Regions from separate parts of the Homo sapiens genome. Here region 1 is linked to region 2. The links are contacts of gene promoters, found by promoter capture Hi-C in blood cells and fetal thymus (Javierre and others, 2016). All regions are on one chromosome and are shown on one strand. Each heading gives the region's core, a stretch centred on a gene start or on the middle of the fragment in contact. The rest is flanking DNA. Distances are from core to core; before and after follow the strand shown.

The links. Contacts are between HindIII fragments. The CHiCAGO score rates a contact against its expected background, and 5 or more counts as called.
Region 1: a contact is called between a fragment that was not itself captured here and the fragment with the promoter of SHISA3 in region 2, in 1 of 17 cell types (naive CD8 T cells). The highest score is 5.6, in naive CD8 T cells.

The regions. Positions count from the first base shown.
Region 1 is chr4:42,872,023-42,876,966 of GRCh38, reverse strand. No RefSeq gene overlaps it. Among named protein-coding and RNA genes, the nearest start is that of GRXCR1, 18 kb to the left of the region's middle. The HindIII fragment of the contact is 1,381 bases long and covers 871-2,251 here.
Region 2 is chr4:42,395,544-42,399,895 of GRCh38, reverse strand. SHISA3 (shisa family member 3) reads right to left here and starts at 2,408. Exons shown (of 2, transcript NM_001080505.3): 1 at 1,563-2,408. The coding sequence starts at 1,839. RefSeq lists silencers at 895-944, 2,585-2,664 and an enhancer at 1,471-2,360. The HindIII fragment of the contact is 26,425 bases long and covers 1-4,352 here.

The DNA.
Region 1 (4,944 bases), core at 312-2,811, 480 kb before region 2:
GCACTGTTGAGTATTTATTCCCATATTTTATCCATTCTAAAGCATGCATTTTGTCTTCACATTTTAACAACTCTGAAACTGGTGCACACCTGATCCTCAGATCAGTCAGTGACAGTCATGAAATAGTTGTTATTGCCTGCACATTAAAGCTTAGACTGGGTGTCACTGGCTTTGAAGAAGATTCCAGAGACAATAGCAAAGCACGATTTTAAGAAATGCTGCATCATCAATGCCCTCGATTGCAGGAAGAACCAACAGCATTGAGGGAAATAGCACATACATCAATAACTCTAAGTGGAAAAGTAATTCGGAAAACTCAGACTGAATATGAATACATTTAGGAACATTGAATAAATTTACTTTACATTTATTTGCCTTTATATATATACTCAAGAGTGATAAATGAGGGAAATCTATGTATAAATACATTCAGAAGAGCTTTTTTGCACATGTTTAAAATAAAAATTTCAAGTGACAATAAAATACTGCCTCATGGTTAAGTTAGTAGGGTTTTTTCCTTTCTTAGTGGTTCATAAAATAAGGATGTATCTTTCAGCTGATTGCATCTTAGATTCAATGAAACATGGGCATATGCCACAATACTCATACATATGTAATCTTTATTTAGCGTCATGCAGCATCCAGAGGAACCAGTAATAAATAATTTTATTACCAGAAAGGGCACATTCTTAGTAGCATATCATCAGGAACATACTGGGATCCAGATGATGGGCCATTCATTTCTTTGTGATCTCCATAGGGTCATCTTTCTCTCCAATAAAACCAGCCTTGGGAAAGCATTCAGGATTTCCTTCTCCCTGCTACCCTCTTCCTTCTCTGCCTCTCTGCCCTCCTGCCAGGGCCCAAGCTTCATTTTGTTGCCACTCTGTGGGCCAAAGCCACTACATCAGTCTCCACTCACCCCTATACAGGAACGGGCTCCAGTCTTGTCAATATTGATCACATCTCACAGCATAAGTATGACGTTTTATTGTAGGGGAAATCCCCCCTGGCAGGGGTGAGGATGGAAAAGAACAAATAGGTGAAACAGACAAAGAACAATGCCTGTCATAGGTGAAACAGACAAATAACAATGCCTATCACTTTATTTAGTCTCATAATATTTGTGATAATAGTGAATTATGAAACACAGATTTTACAGATGGGAAAACTTGCACTAAATGTTTGAGTCACATGCTAATACTAACATGGACCAACAGAATGAGGATCTCCAGGATCACATTAGCTGTGGACTTACAATGGGGGGACTAACCTTATATTTTACTTAAAATAGTACTAAGCAATACACAGAGAGAGTGTTAATAATGACCTTTCATATATGTCTACAAATGTTTGTTTACAAAGAGTTTATGAAGGCTTACTTATAGGGGAACTAATTTAAAATAAAACAGCTATGATTATTTATATTCATATTTACTCTACCCCATTCTGATAGGGATTAAAAGAAGCCTACAAAAATGCATATGAGGTAGCTTATATAGCAACATAAAAATAAATTACGTTATGAAACAACTAAAGAAAAGGAGACATAGGAAAAATAAAGATAGAAGATAAATATTAACATATTCGCTTTCAAGATTGGTGAAAGTGAGGCACCACAAGATAAAATTAGTCCCAGTTATTATGTTATTCCTGCCAGTCTGTGTCCTATATTAATGGAGCATTTGACTTGAAGTTGAATGCCAGTAACTTTTCAAAAAGTCAGAAAATCAATCTTCATCTTTATCTTTTCACTTTTCCCTTTCAATTGCAATTGTTTAATTTCTCATCCCATTAATTTATTCAGCATACATGTTTTAAGCACATCTCATGTACCTAGCATTGCCCTTGGCCCTGCCCATATGTATATGAACAAAGTCAATTCTCACCCAACCAAAAAGTGGCCTGCTCAGCTTTTTCCTCTTCAGGTTACCGTGCAGTTCAAATACCAACACAGAACTATTTGAACATGAATATTTTAACCTCCCAAAGTTTGTAAGCCTACCTTGAATCATTTGTGTGTAAAATAGTGGTATTCTAAAAATAGAGTTTCTTCAGAGAAAATAATTCTCTTTGTTCTGAGTAAGTACACAGTAAAAGAATGAGATATTTCCTAGTCTATAGTCTGCTTTCAGCTCCCTTCTTAAGGAAAGTAATTGTCCTTCATAAATAAATTATATTATTCTGATGCAAAGCACAGTGCATAGCAAATTATATCCTCTCATCAAAAAATAATATTTTCATGGAAGCTTATTTCATCTTTTTCAGAAGTTTCTCATCCCCCATAAAAGTCTAAATTTCAAACAAGTGCAGAGAGTTACATTTTAGAAAGGAATTATTGTTAACACCCTCATCCTGTTTGTTTCATACACTTGAGTTTTTGGAATTCCTTTTATATATATCACTTTGTATTCTATATCATAGAAAATTTTGAAGTTAAATGTTAAAGACTCTTTTAAAGAACAATTCTTAATCTAAGTGTATGAATCTATTTAATTTGCGTATGCTAAAATAAATCCTTCTTCATAGATCTGTCTTGTTCAGCATGTCAATATTGAATTCTCCAAAGTCAATTTGTGGAAAATCATTGATGATCTAAAAGTATCATCCTAGCCCTTAAAGATTTGTATCAGAGATGGCATAAGAGAAGGGATGAATAATCGATATGTACATCAAACACCTAAAAATATTGAATCACTATGGAATAGAATGGAGTGTAAATATTGGCTTAAGTCCCCTAAACTGCATAAGGAAACCTGCAAGGAGGTTTAGCATAAGAAAAGTAAGCATATTGCTAAAACTGAAGGATTTTATTTTTAAAATTCTATGCTACTCTAAGGTAATTCTGGCTAATGAGTCTAGGCATTTAAGTTTGGTCTCCCTCTGCAAAAGAGACATGATATTCCTCATGGCTGTTTTTTACTTCCATTGACTAAATGTATGCACAGCAACATGACTGTCATGGTATATAATTGCTCTGGAAGTCAAGTTTTCATTTCCTGTCAGTTTATCATTTTATTTATTGAATCATTTATCTTTTCATTCAACATTTCATTAGTTTCTTCTAACTAAAGAGTTGTACTTAGAAACGCTCCAAGATTAGTGAAAAGTGGATCCCTATTCATGTTCAAGTGTCTGTGGATTATTTAATTATTAATTTGATAATTATGCTGCTTTACTGGAGTCTTGTCTGTGTCCTATATTAGAAGTATGTTTTACCTAAATATAACAAAAAGGATCTCAGTAAAACAAATGATGATAGTACAATAATGAATGTCTGGCTTTAAATATAGACATTAGTATGCTATTTTAAAACATGAAGAAATGTCCATAGTAAAACAGCTTTACAAGTAAATTACATAAAAGGAAAATTTCTGTTTTTAATACATAGAGAAAGCTAATTAAATACCTAAGTGTCAGAGAATGGAGAATCTTCCCAAATTACTGATGGGCTTGTACACTGATATAGATATTCTGGATCCATGACCCAGCAATCCCACTCCTGGGTATGTAACCAAAAGAAGTTGTCTCACAGAACCATGAGGGGACATGTATGAGGATACTTGTTTCAATATTGTGTGGGGTTGTGGGAACCTGGTAAACAACATATTTGTAAACTGCTTTGTAGAAATGGGACTCAATAAACTGAATTTACACAAACCCAGATAAATCCTTAATACTTTGTATTGAATAAAATAATTTCAAAATAGAATGGGTTCTAAAGGTAATAACATATCTTTTACATAGAATAAAAACAGATTCATGCATGAAGCAATACCACATATTCTACAAGGGTATTGTAGAATATGTACAATATTCTACATATTCTACTGAATATAAGTCAAATATATATCCAATAGGTATATATAAAATAGAGGAGAGAAATAGGAGTGAGAATAAAGAATGAAAGACAACAAGGGGATTTCCATGGACCAGAAATGATAGTTTTCCATGAACAGTAGAGTACAATTAGTTCACCCCACTGTGCTCAGAAAATAAATATGTGATTACCTGTGGTTGCAGTGTTATGGTTAGGTTTTACTTTTTTGTACTTTTCTGTATTTTCAAATGAGCATGTATTATTTTTATATTTAATGAGCAAAGCATAGTTGTTCCTTAAGTTTTTCTAGTCACATAAGTATAATTTACATACATTAAAATTCACCCTTTTAATGCCACAGATTGATGACTTCTAACAAACATGAACAAGATTGCTTAGATTTTTAAGTGACTTGCTTCAACCAAATTTTCTATACCCAAAGATAGTGCTCTTTCCACTACATCAAAATACTTTGGAAGATCACTCAAAAACTTTCGTTCACTTCTGTTTGTATTTCATAATACACCACACTCTTTTTTGCCTTGAAAAATTAATTACTATAATAAATGCCTCTGTAGAACTGCATGTGGGAGGAAATCATTAGACATGTCCTTTGTTAGGTGAAACAATGGAATTGAAGGAAAATAATTTTCAGCAGTGAAAGAGCAGAGGACCAGGCAGGAAATCAGGAAACCATAAGCCTGACATTTTCTTTAGTGTATTTTAATGCCTAGCCTTTTTTTCTGGATAGCATTTGACCTGTCTTAAAAGTATGCGAAGGTAAGTCTTCATGTATTTAAAATCATGCCATTCTAGCAGGAGTGACAATTTCCAATTCATTTATGTTTGTTTTTCTTTTCACTTGCCATGGATAGTTGTGAGGCTCCAGGGAAATTTTTGGTGGAGCTAGGAGCAGAGAAAAGCAGCTAGACAGACACGTAAAATAAAAGTAATGTTGAAGGGTAAGAAAAATGAGCTGCTCAGGTCCAACTGCCAGTGCATGGTTAATCTGGACACAGGAAGATGGATATGATATGAGGTCAGCCACCCAGAAGATGCATGATATTCCTACAGCTGTTAGGACATTGTCCTCAACTACACTGGCAACAGCTTGTAGTCTAGCT
Region 2 (4,352 bases), core at 1,159-3,658:
CCCTCCCATTCTCCCTTGTTTACTAGCACCAGCGTGCAAGGCAAGGCAAAGGTAAGTAACTACCATTTACTGAGCCCTGCGCTCCAGCATTCATACACTCTCACGTCACCAACAACTTAACTCCTTTGAGAGCAATATGCCCACTTTAGAACTGAGAAGAGGTATCCAGAGCAGTTAAGTAACTTGCCCAAGTTACACCGCCGGCAAGTGACAGAGCCAAGGTCCATCAGGGTTTGCCTGATCCCAGACTCAGTGAGTGTGGAGACTGCCTCTCCCTTCTGCTGTCCTCTGGCATCCGAGCCGAGTAGGGAGCGCAGAGGAAGCCCGTGCTGCAGACTGGGCAATTGCACTTACTCCCAGAGGGCAGCTGGGTCCCCCAGGGTGAGCGAGTGAAGCCGTGGGGAAGAGTCTATATTTTTCTAACAGGCCAGGAGGGCCTAGATTTCCCTACTTTCCGCTGAGCATCTTTTCTCCAGAACTACTTCCAGAATCCTCTAGATTGGAAATGTTGACCCCCAACATTCACCCTCTAGTGGAGCACTAATGGAGGGCAGACTCCCCTGTCCTCTGGGTTATCAGTTTGCGGGGAGGGGCCGTTGGGGAACCCTTAATGATCTCTCCAGCCTCTCTTCCCTTTCCCGGCGACCTTCTCTTGCGGGCTCCAGACCTCGGCTCTCTGGAGTCCTGGGGTGTCACCCGCTCTCAGCTCCGCCCGCTTCTCCGGTTTCCCTGGCCATAAAACCCTCGCCTCAAGCTCTAAAGCGTTTCCCTGATGTTCCGATTCAGGTGGAAAACTTTTTTTCAAGGTGTAAATTTTCTCTGCTGGGGTCGTGATTTATTCCGCTCTGAAGTCAGCGGAAATTTGACCCGTGTTTTCCGAAGTGAGAATAGGGGGCGGGGAAGCCCCTTCGACCCTTGTTTCTAAATCTCCACCTCGAAGACCTGGGCATTTCTGAAAGGCGTGACAATAGGGGGTGGGCCGGAGAGGGTAATTCGATGCAGAGAATTGAAAGGAAGTCTGCAGAACGGGGCCGTGGCTTAGAAACGCTATCATTAAGACAGAAAAAAAAAGTGACTGGGGTTTCTTAGCCCTGAAGGGCTGCAAATGAGCGCGCGACAAGAGTCGCGATTCCCTGCATTCGGCACTTCCCGAAGCTCCCGAAGTGACAAGGGCGAGCAATGGGACACCCTCGGCCCCTCCACCAAAACCCAAGTCTACCCTGGCTTTACCCGCACTACCCTTCTCCCGGGAGCTCCAGCTGTCTTCCCCCCGGCTACCAGGCACAAGCCCCGCGCTCCTCACTGTCCCTGGCAAACTTTCCCTGCGGGCCGACCCGCAGAGACCGCAAGTGGCGGGAAGCGGGACTGCAAATGAATAGAGGACCATGATCTGAAACGCGACCACCCACTCATCCCTTGATTCCCCCACCCGGCCGCGTCCCCCTGGCGCACAGACCCAGGAAGGCGCATAGACCTGCCTGGGTCTGTGCATCCTCCCGCGCACACATGCAGCCGCCGCCGTTAGGCGGGCGGGGATATGTCCCCGAGGGCCCCGCACTTACGCGCAGTGATGCCTGGGTGCTCCAGTTCGCGGCGGTCGTTGGTGCAGCCGCCCTGCTCCAGCCTGGCGTCGGCCGCGGCGCAACAGTAGCGGAGCGCGCAGGAGCCGCAGCAGATGGTAGCGTCCAGCGTGTCGAAGTCCTCTGGGCACTGGAAGCCCTCGTGGTAGTTGCCCTGCACGTCCACCCAGCCGTGGCAGTACTCTCCGGACTGCTGGGCGCCCGCCGGGCCCCAGCGCAGCCAGCCAAGGAGAAGGCAAAGCGCCAGCAGTGCCCTCATCGCCACTGGGCTCCCTGGGCGGCCGGGAGCAGGACGCAGCTGGAAAGCGAAGGGCTGAGCCCGGGCTCAGGGCGCACAGCGATTCCGCCTCCCCAGGGACACGTCGCAAGCTGCTGGCCCCGGCGGCCGAAGCCAGTCCTGCGTGGGATAGCAGGGGCCGGGGAGGCGACAGGGGCTGCACTACGAGTTCCGCAGGCCGGGAGTCAGCATGGTGCGCGGGGCGAGTTGGCGAGGGCCTGCGGGAGGCGCCGGCAGAGGCAGTTGCTGGGGCTGTCGCTGCCGCCCTTCGCCCGGCTCATAGCGCTCCCCGCGCGAGGGGCGCGCCAACCCCCCGGCCACCTCCCTCCCCACTCCTCAAGGGAGCCATAGCGCCCGGGGCTGCCAACTCCAGCGCCGCACAGAGTCCCAACCTGTGGCGATCGCCGGGTCCCGAGAGGAGCCGGAGGAAAAGAATTTGTTCCCCACGTGCGAGTACCCCAGACAGGCGGCCGCTCAGCCCCAGCCCCTATCTGTCACAGGAGCAGGAGTCAGCTCCGCCGCGGCCAAGTACAAACGGCCGCGGGGTTGCTGACAGCTCTGCCCGCAAGGCGTCTTTTAAAAAGGAAGAGGGAGGAGGAGACAATGAGGGTTAAGAAAGAGTCCGCCCTCCCGGATCGCGCCTCTGGAGCTAATCACAGCGGGTGCGGCGCGGGCCGAGGGTCCTCTGCGCTTTCTGGTTCGCGCTCCATCCTCCGCCTCCCCCCGGCCACCCCCGCCCATGCCGCTCCCCCAGGACTTGACTCTCAACCTGAAGATATCAGACCCTCCCCTCCCCCGCCGCACACCCCAACTCTCTCACAGCCCGGAAATCTCTGCAGAGTGACGTTGAGGGCTGCCGAATTCCCGCGTTTATCCACGCACGTGGGCGCGCGAGTGGAGACGCTGGATTTACTTTTCAATGGATATAATGCATGAATGCGGTGCAGTCATTGAAGTTTGTCGAATCATCTGTGCCCTGTTGCACAGACTCAGACTCGTTCCTGGGATACCGCTTCTAAAGGTTCAGGACCGAGAACATGGTTTTTAGGTGTCGCCAACATGTGCTGAGCTTTCCACCTACGTTTCCACTTTTTCTGGGAGGAACGGCACATTTTCACAAGCACACACACACACACACTCGCACTTTTTCCGCCGGCTGAAGGATTGCCGGTCACCTCTGCCAGCCAAGGCCAGCTCGCAAAACCTCAAAGAGCACGACTTCTCCGTTCACGCCCGCAAAGGAAATAAAGGAGCAAAATTAATGATAATTGAGCAGAACTGAACTTCTGTTCAGGGAAAGAAACACATTTATTTAAATGATGTGTCCCCTGTGGGCTATTTTCAGGGGCACTGCTCCGTTAGCGGCCTAAGTGCCTTATGAAACTGGTGTTATGTGAAACCTGGGCCAAACGCAAGCATTTATTTTGACTGCATCCTGAACTTCCAATCATCGTCTATTGGTATGTGTGAATATGTTCGGTGTATCTCGGCTTATTTGTCAAACAAGCTGCATACCCGTGTCCCTGAGTTAGATGTCGGCAAGTTGAGTGAAACAAAAGGAACAAAGTGTTCTCAGCTCCAGCGACACAAGGTGCGCGGTCAAACGCATTTATCACGTTCGCAGCTTCCTGATGAACCGAGTCGATTCCGGAGAAACTTTTTTAAAAATCTCCTATTAAAACGATTTCTTTTTTTTTTTTTTTTATCTAAGTTAAAGTATATTCCAATTAAATAATTACTTCTGATTTCTAATTTTAGGTATTGGGATTAGCATTTAGTTATGTGGCTGCTGAAAATACATGTCCATTTCACACGTTAAGTGGGACCGTGTAAATATTTAACTTTATTGCTCTCTTAGAGTTACATATTTCTTAGGACAATACGAAGCTATTAAGTAAAAACAAATTAAGTTGGAGCTTTCAATAACAAACAATGAAACAGTTTTTTAGTTAAATAGTTTAAGCATATGGGAAATTGTTTTGCAGAAATTTCTTAGATATTGGGTTTTTTATTTACAAAAAAAAGGTCTTGCCAGACTTAATCTTTTTTTTAACTCTAGTTGTTTTTTAGGAGTGTTGTTTCAATTGTATATATATCCTGAGCAATTACAGGAAAATGTCACTTAGAAACACAGCAAAAATGAGATATAGTGATTATAATCAGATGATAAAAATTATGACATGTTTACTGCTAATAACTTTCCCAGAACCACACCTTTTAATATTAGTTTTTGTTAAAATTTAGAGGAATTTCATTACGTCATAACTGCATAAAGTTCTGCTGCAGCAGCAACCTTTGCTGGTCCCCCAAGGGTCAAGTTTCTCTCATTATCCAGCTGTTCTTTGATAGCATTAATATTTTAAGGAGTGATTTGTTGGCACTTACCTCCCATTAATTACATTCTCCATGCCACAGTGGGATTCTTTTTCCTGGAGACACCAGCTATAATTAATTCCCTCATTCAAAGCTCCTGTCTACTTGACTTATTTAGAGGG